Regions from separate parts of the Homo sapiens genome. Here region 2 is linked to region 1. The links are contacts of gene promoters, found by promoter capture Hi-C in blood cells and fetal thymus (Javierre and others, 2016). All regions are on one chromosome and are shown on one strand. Each heading gives the region's core, a stretch centred on a gene start or on the middle of the fragment in contact. The rest is flanking DNA. Distances are from core to core; before and after follow the strand shown.

The links. Contacts are between HindIII fragments. The CHiCAGO score rates a contact against its expected background, and 5 or more counts as called.
Region 2: a contact is called between a fragment that was not itself captured here and the fragment with the promoter of EFTUD2 in region 1, in 2 of 17 cell types (endothelial precursors and erythroblasts). The highest score is 6.4, in endothelial precursors.

The regions. Positions count from the first base shown.
Region 1 is chr17:44,897,108-44,902,966 of GRCh38, reverse strand. EFTUD2 (elongation factor Tu GTP binding domain containing 2) reads left to right here and starts at 3,522. Exons shown (of 28, transcript NM_004247.4): 1 at 3,522-3,598. It overlaps DNAAF19 (dynein axonemal assembly factor 19), which reads right to left and starts at 3,238. Exons shown (of 4, transcript NM_213607.3): 1 at 3,108-3,238; 2 at 1,826-1,977; 3 at 1,315-1,447; 4 at 1-602. The coding sequence starts at 1,968. The coding sequence ends at 150. The HindIII fragment of the contact is 5,429 bases long and covers 1,268-5,859 here.
Region 2 is chr17:45,087,157-45,093,015 of GRCh38, reverse strand. All of the region lies in intron 3 of NMT1 (N-myristoyltransferase 1), which reads right to left. Among named protein-coding and RNA genes, the nearest start is that of MIR6784, 24 kb to the left of the region's middle. RefSeq lists an enhancer at 1,791-2,292. The HindIII fragment of the contact is 602 bases long and covers 2,457-3,058 here.

The DNA.
Region 1 (5,859 bases), core at 2,273-4,772:
AGACTTGATTCCTGTTTTTGCTCTGAAAATTCCAAGTTGAGAAGGGAACCAGGTGTGGGTTTCTTATTATGGTCCTGCAGAACCCCCAAGACAACAACCAAAAAACTGCCTCCAGTGACCACTGGGACCTCTGAGGGTAGCTTGCCGCATCAGTCAACCTGGTACAGCTCCAGCAGCTCCTGCAGGAGCCTCTCCTCCTCCTGGAGCCCACCAGACTGCTCCTCCAGACCCTGCTCCTCCCAGCTGAGCCCCTCCTTCACGGATCTGGGGTTGCCCATGGCTTGCAGCTTCTGAAACAAGCCCTTGCAGCTCTCTCTCTCTGCCCGGCTCAGCAGGCTTAGGTTCAGGGTGAAGCGCCCAGTGCTCGCCAGGCTGCATAGGATCCCCAGCACCGCTGCCCGGTCAGCCGGCCCCACGTGATCAGCCAGTGCCACCAGCAGCTCCCCAAGAAGTCCAAATCCCACATCTGTCTGGAAGAGGCAGCCGAGCCTTGGACCCCCAAGCTGCAGTAGAGCCTGGTAGCGCTCTGGCCCACTTGGCAAGTGTCGTCGCCAATCACGATAGAAGTCAGCAGACGTCTCGGGCTGGAGGGGGGCTTTCTCCTGGACCACAAAGGAAGGAAAGGGAGTCAGGAGCTCTTCCAGCTGTTCTGCAACAGTGACAGGGAGGGGAGCCTGTAGCTCTTCATCTTACTGTCTTCATCTCACTACTGTCTGAGCACTGGGAAAGCTGTGGTCCTTGGCGGCCTCATTTTCAGATGAGGAAACTGGGGATGAAACAGGGAGGGCCCCAAGGAATCCACGCCATGATTTGAGATTCTCATTTATACTGGAATTTTCCTACTCATGAATGGAGACATAGCTCTGGTCTTCAAGAGTAAGTCAGGGTTTACTGTAAGTCGGGTGGATGGGTTGATTGGAAATCTCAGGAAGAGAGAAAGGAACTCAAGGATCTGAATGTTGGGGTCTCTCTCTCAACACTGCCACAGGATCATTACACTAGACACCATACAACCCAGAGGCAGAGCATCCCAATTCTGATCTGAGAATGAAAGTCAAAGGACTAAGGGAAGCCGACCTTCCTAGCCCAACTTTCTGACTCATTCTGCCCACTTCAACTCAGCTTTGCCATCTGCTGTTTGTTTTTCTTTCTGGGATTGGAGGCAGAAACCTATCTCTGTTGGTTTAACATGACAAATAAAGAAGAGGTATGTGTGGTTAAAAAAACAAAACAAAACAAAACAAAATGAAAAAACAGGATTGAAGCTTTAGGGCAGAGAATCCTGCTGGACTAAAGGGGCAGGGCCTCACCTACCGGGGAGATTTCAGTGGCCACATCCTGGAAGGTCCTTCCCTGAATAGTGTGACAGTTCCAGGGCACAGTTCTCTTTCCTCCCATCTTATCCTTCCGCTCCAGTGGCTTCAGATGTGATGCAAGGACAATACCCCTGTAGGCAAAGGACAGAAATTAGGCAATGGACTTAATGCTGTGTCTGTGGGTGTGAGGCAGCTAGACTTTGCATGGTATAGGATAAACCTGTTACGGACCAATATGACCATAATAATAACAACAGCGATAGCTGACTGCTTTCAAGCACCTCACATGTGTCAGACACTTGCTCAGTCTTATGTGCAAGAACTCATTTAATTATAACAGTTACTGTTCTACAGATAAATAATTGAGACTCAGAGAAGTTAAGGAAATTGCATAAGATCAAACAGTAGACGGTGGGGCCAGGACTGAAGCCCAGAATGGTTTGATTTCAGAGTTAACTACTATAATCCACCATAACAGGAGGGCCTGAGAAAAATGGCAGTGAGCCAACCTGAACTCCTCATAGGAAGCCACCCTCTGTTCCACTGCCCGTAACTTGGCAGCATTCTCCCGTTTGTACTTCTCATCAGCAGTGAGTGCAGCCTGCAGCTCTTTCTCCAAAGCCTTGAAGTTGATGATGTCATTCCTTTCCATGGCCTGTGCCTGGGAAGGCAAAGGGAATACATGTCAGTGGACAGTCAATATCAGGGGAAAGAGGGTACCTCTGAATTATTCACCAGAACACAAAATGACCCCAAAGCACTCTGGACATCATGTCACTCAGATTGGGAGGTGTTACAAAAATCTGGTTTTCTATTTTACAAAGACAAGTTGAATTTCACAGTGAGGACTTACACAAGACTTGTCCCTGAAAATAGAATACAGAGTCCTGACTTTCAATTTGGAGTTCTGTCTTAATTTTGCTCTTTGCCTCTAAAAATATTTTTAATTTTGGTGCTTCAGTCGAGGAGGCATTGGGATCTCAGAATTCAGTTTCTTCACTCTTCCCCCATAGGATTGTTCTACAGCAAGTCGTTTCGACAGGGGACCTCACACAAAGGCAGAACTCTTGTTAGTTACCCTTGAGCTCGGGGATAAAGTTTCATTCTTCATTGAATGTCTTTAATGAGGAAGGAGACTTTCACCCAAACCAGATGCAATGACTGAGCAGGAAATCAAGTAGAAGGGGCAAAGGAAGGAGCTCAATGACCCCATCCCCAAATCCCTCTGTCCAGCCCAGGGCTGGAACAGAGGTCCCTAGGTACCTGGGCAATGCCTTTAGTTCTATCACTGTACTTCTGTAGTTTCTGCATATCTGAGGCTGACTGATCATTTCTACAGAGATATTCTTTTCTTTTTTTTTTTTTCTGGCTCTGTTGCCCAGGCTGGAGTGCAGTGGCGCGATCTTGGCTCATTGCAACCTCTGCCTCCGGGGTTCAAGCAATTTTCGATCCTGACCTCAAGTAATCCGCGCGCCTCGGCCTCCCAAAGTGCTGGGATTACAGGCGTGAGCCACTGCAGAGAGATTCTCTACGTGGGTTCTAGTCGTGGCTCTGGCATTTACTTGTGGGACCTCTCTGAACTGCAAACTCCTAGTGAGTTGAGCTAGATTTTGTGGCGGGGTCATCACCAACAGCCCTAGCGCAAGGAAGCAGGAAGTCCCCAACCAATCCCATAGCCACCCTACCCCAACGTAGGGAATCTGAACGCCAAGAAGGGGCTGGGGTGGCCAGTAACCGAAATCAGGTGTCCAGTTCTCAGCCCTCCCCAGGCATTTAATACATAGAACTAACCCTTCCGTCCCCTTACTCAGCCTCCCGGACCTTCACCCCAGCAGTCCCGGCCTTGGTCCCCTTGCTTTCTTTGGGGATCCCCTGATAAACCAGAACAGGAGGGCAACCCCGCGCAGACCACGCCCGCAGCTGTGGTTGCCTAGCAACTGCGCTAACAGCCTGACCACGTGATCTGCCCGAAGGCCCCTCCCCCCATTTTCAGGGTGGTCCCGAGGCGCCTGATCAGATTCGTTCATCCTCAGCTCTCACCCTCTTTGGAGCAGCCCACGTCTTGGGCTACTCGTCTTGGGGACCCGCTACTCCGCCTTGCCAGTCCGCGGCGGGCATACCTCGGAACTGGTCCTCAGGCAGAGGGTTGTCCTCCCGGGCAGAAAGGCGACAGCGGCGTCTGCGGGGTCCTTCCTGGCGGCGGGCGCAGGCGTTTCCTCGGCGTGGGGCGGAAGCACGATCTCCGGCAGCGGCCTGGGAACTCTTAGCTGAGCAGGCGAGAGGTAAGTTGAAGCGGGTCAGCGGCACGGAAGGGTTGCTCCAGGTGGGATAGGAAATTAAAAAGCGTCAGATCTGGAAGGGGCCTTATATGCTATTGGCCCCTTTCGCTTTACGGATCGGTAAATTGAGGCCTGGAGCGGGAAAAAGAATGGAAGACCCTGTCGTCCTCGTGCCTTCCCAAGGCTTCCGAAGCGCGCACACACGCACACACCTCGATTTCGGGGCTGCCTCTATAGCCTCAGTCCGTAAAATCGTATCGCTAGGTAGGAGTGGTGCTCTAACTGTCCAGTCCCCTCGCTCACTTCCTCTTCTATCCGTGCCGCTTTCAGCCGTTCTTTGCCAAGTTCCCTCCGAAGTCCTCTGAGCTCCTGCATTGTAGCGGGAAGCGGCAGTGAGGTTTGTTACCATGAGTCGCTAGTTTTGTGTAACTGTGGGCAAATCAGCTATATTCTGTGTACCTTGTTAGAGTCATTCATTAGTTCAGTAAATACTTATTGAGGGCTTAGTCTATGCTAGGCACAGTACTAAGTGAACAAAGTCTTTGCTTCAATTGTAGTTGGGGAAATGAACAGTAAACAACTAGATACAAGTCAGCTAGTGATAAATGTATAACATTTGTGAATAGCAATAAAACAGTGAAAGTGGGAAGTTGGAGAGTATGTATGGGGGACTTTTTAGAGTGACAGAGAAGATGACATTTTAGTGGAGACTTGATTGAAATAAAGGAACAAGGTGAAAAATATCAAAGGGGAGAGCGTTTTGGACAAAGAGAAAGGCAAGTGCAGTGGCCCTGAGGCAGAAATGAGCTTGGCTTGTTCCATGAACAGCTTTCTATAACAGTTTCTTCAATCGGCCGGGCGCGGTGGCTCACGCCTGTAATCCCAGCACTTTGGGAGAAAGACGCGGGCGGATCACCTGAGGTCAGGAGTTCGAGACCAGCCTGGCCAACATGGTGAAAACCCATCTCTACTAAGAATACAAAAAAATTAGCCAGGCGTAGTGGTGCACTCCTGTAGTCCCAACTACTCGGGAGGCTGAGGCAGGAGAATCGCTTGAAACCAGGAGGCGGAGGTTGCAGTGAACTGAGATCGTGCCGTTGTACTCCAGCCTGGGCAACAAGAGCAAAACTCTGTCTCAAAAAATATATATAAAATAAATAAATAATTTCTTCAATCCCTTGACTGGGGTCTTGGGAGAATGAGATAAGCATAAATGCGATAGTAGCTTTTTAGAAGTAAAAAGAATATGCATGTGAAAGTTTCCATAATAATTTACATTTAATTATTGGTCCTTGGAGCTCCAATTCTCTCTCTACATTCAGCACCCAGCAGGTGGCATTGAGGGAGTTGGAGGTATCAGTCTAATCCAAGAAATATCAGCATCTTAAAATTAAACATCCCATTCAGTTAACATTTATCCAGTTCCTACTTATGCAAGGTGCTGTCTTGGCTATTGGCTGTGTTAGCATTGGTACTTTTTTCTCAATTATTTAAAAATGTAAAATGTGGCCGGGTGCGGTGGCTCACACCTGTAATCTCAGCACTTTGGGAGGCCGAGGTGGGCTAATCACCTGAGGTCAAGAGTTCGAGACTGCCTGGCCAACATGGTTGAAACCCCGTCTCTACTAAAAATACAAAAATTAGCCAAGTGTGATGGCGGGTGCCTGTAATCCCAGCTACTTGGGAGGTTGAGGCAGGAGAATCGCTTGAACCTGTGAGGCGGAGGTTGCAGTGAGTCGAGATCGTGCCACTGCACTCCAGCCTAGGCAACAGAGCGGGACTCCGTCTCAAAAAAATAAAAAAATAAAAATGTAAAATGCATTCTTAGCTGGAGGACCATGCAAAAACAGTTGGAGGGGCCAGATTTGGCCACAGGTCAGAGTTTGTCAACTCTTGCTCTAAAGTATTAGGAGGTGAAGAGGCATTGTGTCAGCAGCATACTGTCAAATATTTGGGGAAAAGAAAGTTATTTGTACTGTTCTTGCCACTTTTTGGTATTATTTTAAAATTAAATTTAGTATCATAAAAGAAGTGAAGAGAAGAAGCAGGTGCATGGAACACAGGGTTCTCATGATCAAGGATGGCAAAAAATAATGCTAGCTAACGTTTATTGAGCCTAGGACTCTGGTAAATTCTTTTTTTTTTTTTTTTTTTTTGAGACGGAGTCTCTCTCTGTCACCCAGGCTGGAGTGCAGTGGCGCTGTCTCCGCTCACTGCAAGCTCCGCCTCCTGGGTTCACACCATTCTCCTGCCTCAGCCTCCCC
Region 2 (5,859 bases), core at 1,508-4,007, 190 kb before region 1:
CTCCAAAGACACAGCCCTCATTCCTATCCAGAGCTCAATCGGACTCATATATGCTGAGAGATTCACCACTGAATTCTGGCCCTTGGGATGATTTCGGTTCTACAATGGGCTCACTCATGTTTACACTGGGAAGAATGCAATGTTTAGTGCATTTTGGAAAATGGAGTCTTCAAAAGGGACCAACCCAGTAACAGTGTTCCTAGCAAAGGGCTCTGTATAGACTAGGCACTCAATTCATGCTTTTACTGACTTTCAGACTCCTGATCCCAAATATTTTTTTTTTCTTTTCTTTTCTTTTTTTTTTTTTTGAGACAGTCTCATTCTGTCGCCCAGGTTGGAGTACAGTGGTGCGATCTTGGCTCACTGCAACCTTCACCTCCCTGGTTCAAGCAATTCTCCTGCCTCAGACTCCCGAGTGGCTGGAATTACAGGTGTCCGCCACCACGCTGGCTAATTTTGGTGTTTTGTTTTTTTTTTTTCAGTAGAGATGGAGTTTCACCATGTTGGCCAGGCTGGTTTCAAACCCCTGGCCTCAAGTGATCCACCCGCCTCGGCCTCCCAAAGTCCAAACATTTCATTCTAACATGTAACAGGAAGCTCTAGACCTTCCCAGAATGATAATCTGTGGGGCAAGTGTGGTGGAAAGGGCTGCATCAGGCTGCAGCACACGACACCACCGCTGGCACTGATCATCTCACCCTCTTCCATCAGACACATTACTGAGCACCAACCGTGCACCAGTGACTCAGTGACCATGCCAGCCCCTAGTGTACAGCAGGAAAAAGGACCAAGTCCCTGTCCTCATGAGACATACCATCTTCTGGGGAAATAGTAAATAAATGAGTCATTATCCACGTGCTGCAGGTCAGGATCTGGAAAGTGCAGGGACACACAACAGGGAAGCAGCCTGCTCTGTTGGTAATCAGGCTTCCCAACAGGTTTGCTTGGGAGAGAGGTCATATTTTTCTTCCCTAGTTAGGAAACTCATGACTGGCGAGATGGGGTCTTGCTCTGTTGCCCAGGCTGGAATGCAGTGGCGTAACCTTGGTTCACTACAGCCTCGACCTCCTAGGCCCAAACGATCCTCCCATCTCAGCCTCTCGAGTGGTTGGGACTATAGGCATGCGCCACTACGCCTGGCTAATTTTATTTTTCATAGAGATGAGGTCTCACTGTTGCCCAGGCTGGTCTCAAACTCCTAGACTCAAGTGATCCTCCTGCCTTGGCCTCCCAAAATGCTGGGATTATAGCATGAGCCACGGCGCCCAGCCAAAACCCACCATTTGATTATTCATAAAGTAGCTCTTGTGAATTTAAGTCAATCCGCTTCCAACTGACAGCTATGTATATTAAAAAAACATTTTTGAGCCTACAAAACTGAGGGCCAGACCCTCTAGTCTTATCTAGGTGCTAATTTCCCAACTTGTATTGAATTTATACCTTTTCCTATACACTTCAGAACCTTCTTTTTTTCCCCCTGAATTATTTCCATGGCCAAGAATACTGATGGTCTTCCCTATTGTACTAAAATAACCTCAAGGCTAAATCTTCTCATTTAGGCTGGCTACTAGGTCCTACACGCAACAGGCACTTCCATTCACTCACTCCTTCACCAAGTGTTCACTGAATCCTAGAATGTGCCAGTTCTGTGGCAGGGGCTGGCGAATGAAACAGACACAGGTCCTCACCATCATGGACACCAAAGAGATGAGCAAGGATGCACATGCCACCCGGCATGGTGAGGGCCAGTAAGAATGAAGTACAGGGTGCTATGGGACGTGTGTGTGTGTGTGTGTGTGTGTGTGTGTGTGTGTGTGTGTGTGTGTGTCAGGAAAGACCTCTCAGAGGAAATATCTAACGACAAGACCTCAAGGATAATTAGGAATCAGCCAGGCTGCAGGTGGACTATGTGGGGCAGGGTGGGTGTGAAAAAGTAGAGCTACAGGAAACACTGAAAAGGGAGCAGCCACTTTTACTAGACTCCCACTGTGGAGTGCCCTCGATGCCAAGAAGCAGCCCAAGGCTCCTGTGCTGTCCTCGGTGTGGTGCCAGCATCATGGCCTCTGCTTGTCCTGCTCTGTGGGGAGCAGCCTGCCTTCTCCCTTACAATGGCCTTTGAGTACCTCCTGCTGAGCAGGGGTGGAAGGCTGCTCTGCAGAGCACAGCAAGAATGCAGCTGATTCTCTCAAGGCCAACATGAACCAATAAATGACTAAGGATGACACTTCGAACTTGCTTTAAAAGAATCTGGAAGTTTAAAGAAAACCCTGAGCTTTCAATGGGTTTCTTTCTGCACACTCTTCCCTCAAAATTCTCTCCATGACATCAAACATCAGAGACCCAAAACTAAGCAATGCGGTGCAACTGTGAAGGACTTCGGAGAAATGAGAATGTCTGAGATGCGGAAAACATTAAACCAAACAAAGGCCAAGGAGAGGAAAAAGAGAGGGGAAGCTTCTCTCTGGGACCCATGGAAACCAGGTGAGTGCACATCCTCCCTTTGATAGTGACTTTTTAAAACAGAGTGGCCACACTGCATTCCACTGACCAAAGACAGAAAAGGATACTGCTTCCGTTGACATGAGTGGGAAAGGGGTGACTTTAAAAAGAAGAACGACATGATCTCGAGTGGGGGATCAAAAGTTCATCTGCGGCTCTTACAGTTGTTACACAGACTAAAACACTTCTGCTAAGAAGGCCTTTCATTTTTATTTATTTATTTTTTAATCTTTGAGACAGGGACTCGCTTTGTCACCCAGGCTAGAGTGCAGTGGCACGATCATGGCTCACTACAGCCTCGACCTCCAGGACTCAAACGATCCTCCCACCTCAGTCTCCTGAGAAACTGGGACCATAGGCATGTGCTACCATGTCTGGCTAATTTTTAAATTTTTTTGTAGAGACGAGGTCTTTCCCTGTTGTCCAGGCTGGTCTTGAGCTGCTGGGCTCAAGCAATCCTCCTGCCTTGGCCTCCCAAAGTGCTGGGATTACAGGCATTGAGCCACTACACCCGGCCTAAGAAGGCCTTTCCATGGTAAACCTAGGATAATTTTAAGCTTCTAAAGAATTGCAGGTCTCAGTCAGGTGCAGTGGCTCACGCCTATAATCCCAGCACTTTGGGAGGCTAAGACAGGAGGACAGCTTGAGCCTAGGAGTTTGAGACCAGCCTGGTCAACATAGTGAAACCATGTCTCCACAAAAAATTTAAAAATTAGCCAGGCATGTGGCAGGCACCTGTAGTCCCAGCTACTCAGGAGGCTAAGGTGGGAGGATTGCTTGAGCCCAGGAGATCAAGGCTGCAGTGAGCCATGATCATACCACTGCACTCCAGCCTGGGCAGCAGAGCGAGATCCTGTCTCAAGAAAATAAAAGAGAGGGCCGGGTGCGGTAGCTCATGCCTGTAATCCTAGCACTTTGGGAGGCCAAGGCACGTGGATCACGAGGTCAGGAGTTCAAGACCAGCCTGGCCAAGATGGTGAAACCCTGTCTCTACTAAAAATACAAAAATTAGCCGGGCGTGGTGGTGGGCACCTGTAATCCCAACTACTCGGGAGGCTGAGGCAGAGAACTGCTTGAACCTGGGAGGCAGAGGTTGCAGTGAGCCGAGAAAACGCCACTGCACTCCAGCCTGGGCGACAGAGTGAGACTCTGTCTCATAAATAAATAAATAAATCAGAGAGACTTGTAGGTTTCTTTAGTGGAATACCATCTAATTAAAACTCTCCCAAGAAGGTGGAGAGTACTGTAAAAACACAGTGCAGCTGATATGCACGAGATTTATAATCATTAGTCCTCCAATTAAGTGAAAAAAAAATTAGGGCAAGAAGCTGTAGGTACCACCACCCCTGAGAAAACTCAGAACTAGGGTGACGCCTCAGCCATGCAGGCTAACACGCCTGCCAAGGTGGCACTTTTTACAGGCTGACACAAACACAGGAATCTAACTGGGGCTTGACTGACCCTGGACCTCAAAGGCAGACTAGTCAGATGCTCAGGGTGACTGCTCTTCCATGGAGTCCGACACCACACACTGCACAGAAGGCAAAGCCAGAAGAAATAAAACCAGACCTTGTTCCTCCTTCCTCAAAGTGTCAGGGCCCGTATGAGCAACTGTGTGGTTTTCTCTTGAGCTTTCTGAGAACTAAACTGAAGCACTTTCTACATTTACAGGTGAAAGGAAAACAAAGTATGCTGGGCTGAAGAGGAACAGAAGCAAATTAATCCCAAGCTGCCTCTTTTTTTTTTTTTTTAAATTCATTTTTGAGATGCATTCTTGCTCTGCTGCCCAGGCTGGAGTGCAGTGGTGCGATCTCAGCTTACTGCAACCTCTGTCTCCTAGGTTCAAGTGATTCTCCCACCTCAGACTCTCAAGTAGCTGGGATCACAGGCCCATGCCACCAGCCCAGCTAGTTTTTGTATTTTTAGTAGAGACGAGGTTTTACCATGTTGGCCAGGCTGGTCTCGAACTCCTGACCTCAGGTCATCCGCCTGCCTCGACCTCCCAAAGTGCTGGGATTACAGGCGTGAGCCACTGCGCCCAGCCTCAATCTGCCTCTTTCCCAAGTGCCACTATCTGTGAAGAATGTAGCAAGGTTACTCATTTGCAAATTCCTCAGGAAAAATAAAATCAAACCAAAACTCCAAAATGCCATCTGAAAACAGAGCCAAGATACATGGCAGCCACCACACAACACCTCATCAGGGATTTCATTCAGAGGTGAGATGTGTGGCTCTCTGCATCTTTCCTGCTCCTCAGCGAGAAACTGGTCACTGGGACCCTACCCTGTGGCCCAAAGCCTTGCTGGAGGGCTTAGCCAGTGGGCCTGGGACCTGGCCGATGAGGGCAGCCAAACACACACGGTGATGGGGGAATCAGCACCCCTCTTGTCCACCTGGGCAGTGCTCTGCTCTCCCTCACCCGTGGGGATGCACCTCCTCAGCTTGCTTCTATTGTGACCAAGCTTCTAAGAACTGCATCCGCTCTAGAGCAGAGCTTCTCAAACTTTCAAAGTGGACAGAAATCCTCTGGCAGTTCTGATTCTGCAGCTTTGGGGTGGGGCCCGACAAACTGCATTTCTACTAGCAATTAGGCAATGCCCATCCTGCAGGTCTGCAGGCCTCATGGATTAGCTGCTCCCAACCTCTGCAGCAAACAAATCTCCTTGGGCACAGCTGCCTTCCTCACCTCACCAGTCTTTAGCCCTACCCTGTCTGGCCCTGCCCCACCCTCCTCCTCTGCACCGAACATACTAGTGAAGTCTCATTGTGTTTCTGGAGGGGAGCAGTAATGTGGACAAGCTGAAAGTCATTTACATTTGGTGTTGGAATATGTTTTTTTCAACATACTTACTTTCCCAGTCACAAAGAAAACAGGAACTAGGCCACCAATGGGTCCAGAATCATGTTACAACCACTTCAGAAACTTTGTCAGCTGAGTCCTGAAGTCAGCCATCAAGGTTGGCTTGGCTCAGTCTTGGCAGGCACGTCTAACAGGATCCAGTCCCTTCCAGAATCCTTTTAGATATTCTGCCTATTCCACCCCTTTAGCAATTCATTATAGCTTTTTTAAGGGGTGCTAATGAAATCTATATATAGTATTCCTGTTGTTGAACCATCACTGCTAAGCAAAATCTCAAACCACTTTGCATTTAGTAAGCATGCATTGGCTAGGAGACAAAGGGGAAGAGGCTGGGGACTTTGCCCATTCCAGGAATAAACATGTGCCCAGACAAACAAGACAAAGTCTCTATAAACCTAAGTGGAAAAAAGACCTCTGGGCAGACATTCCCACTCTTCATGTGCCAATAGTTTTGTTTTGTTTTTTTTTTGGGTTTTTTGGTTTGTTCGTTTTTTGAGTTG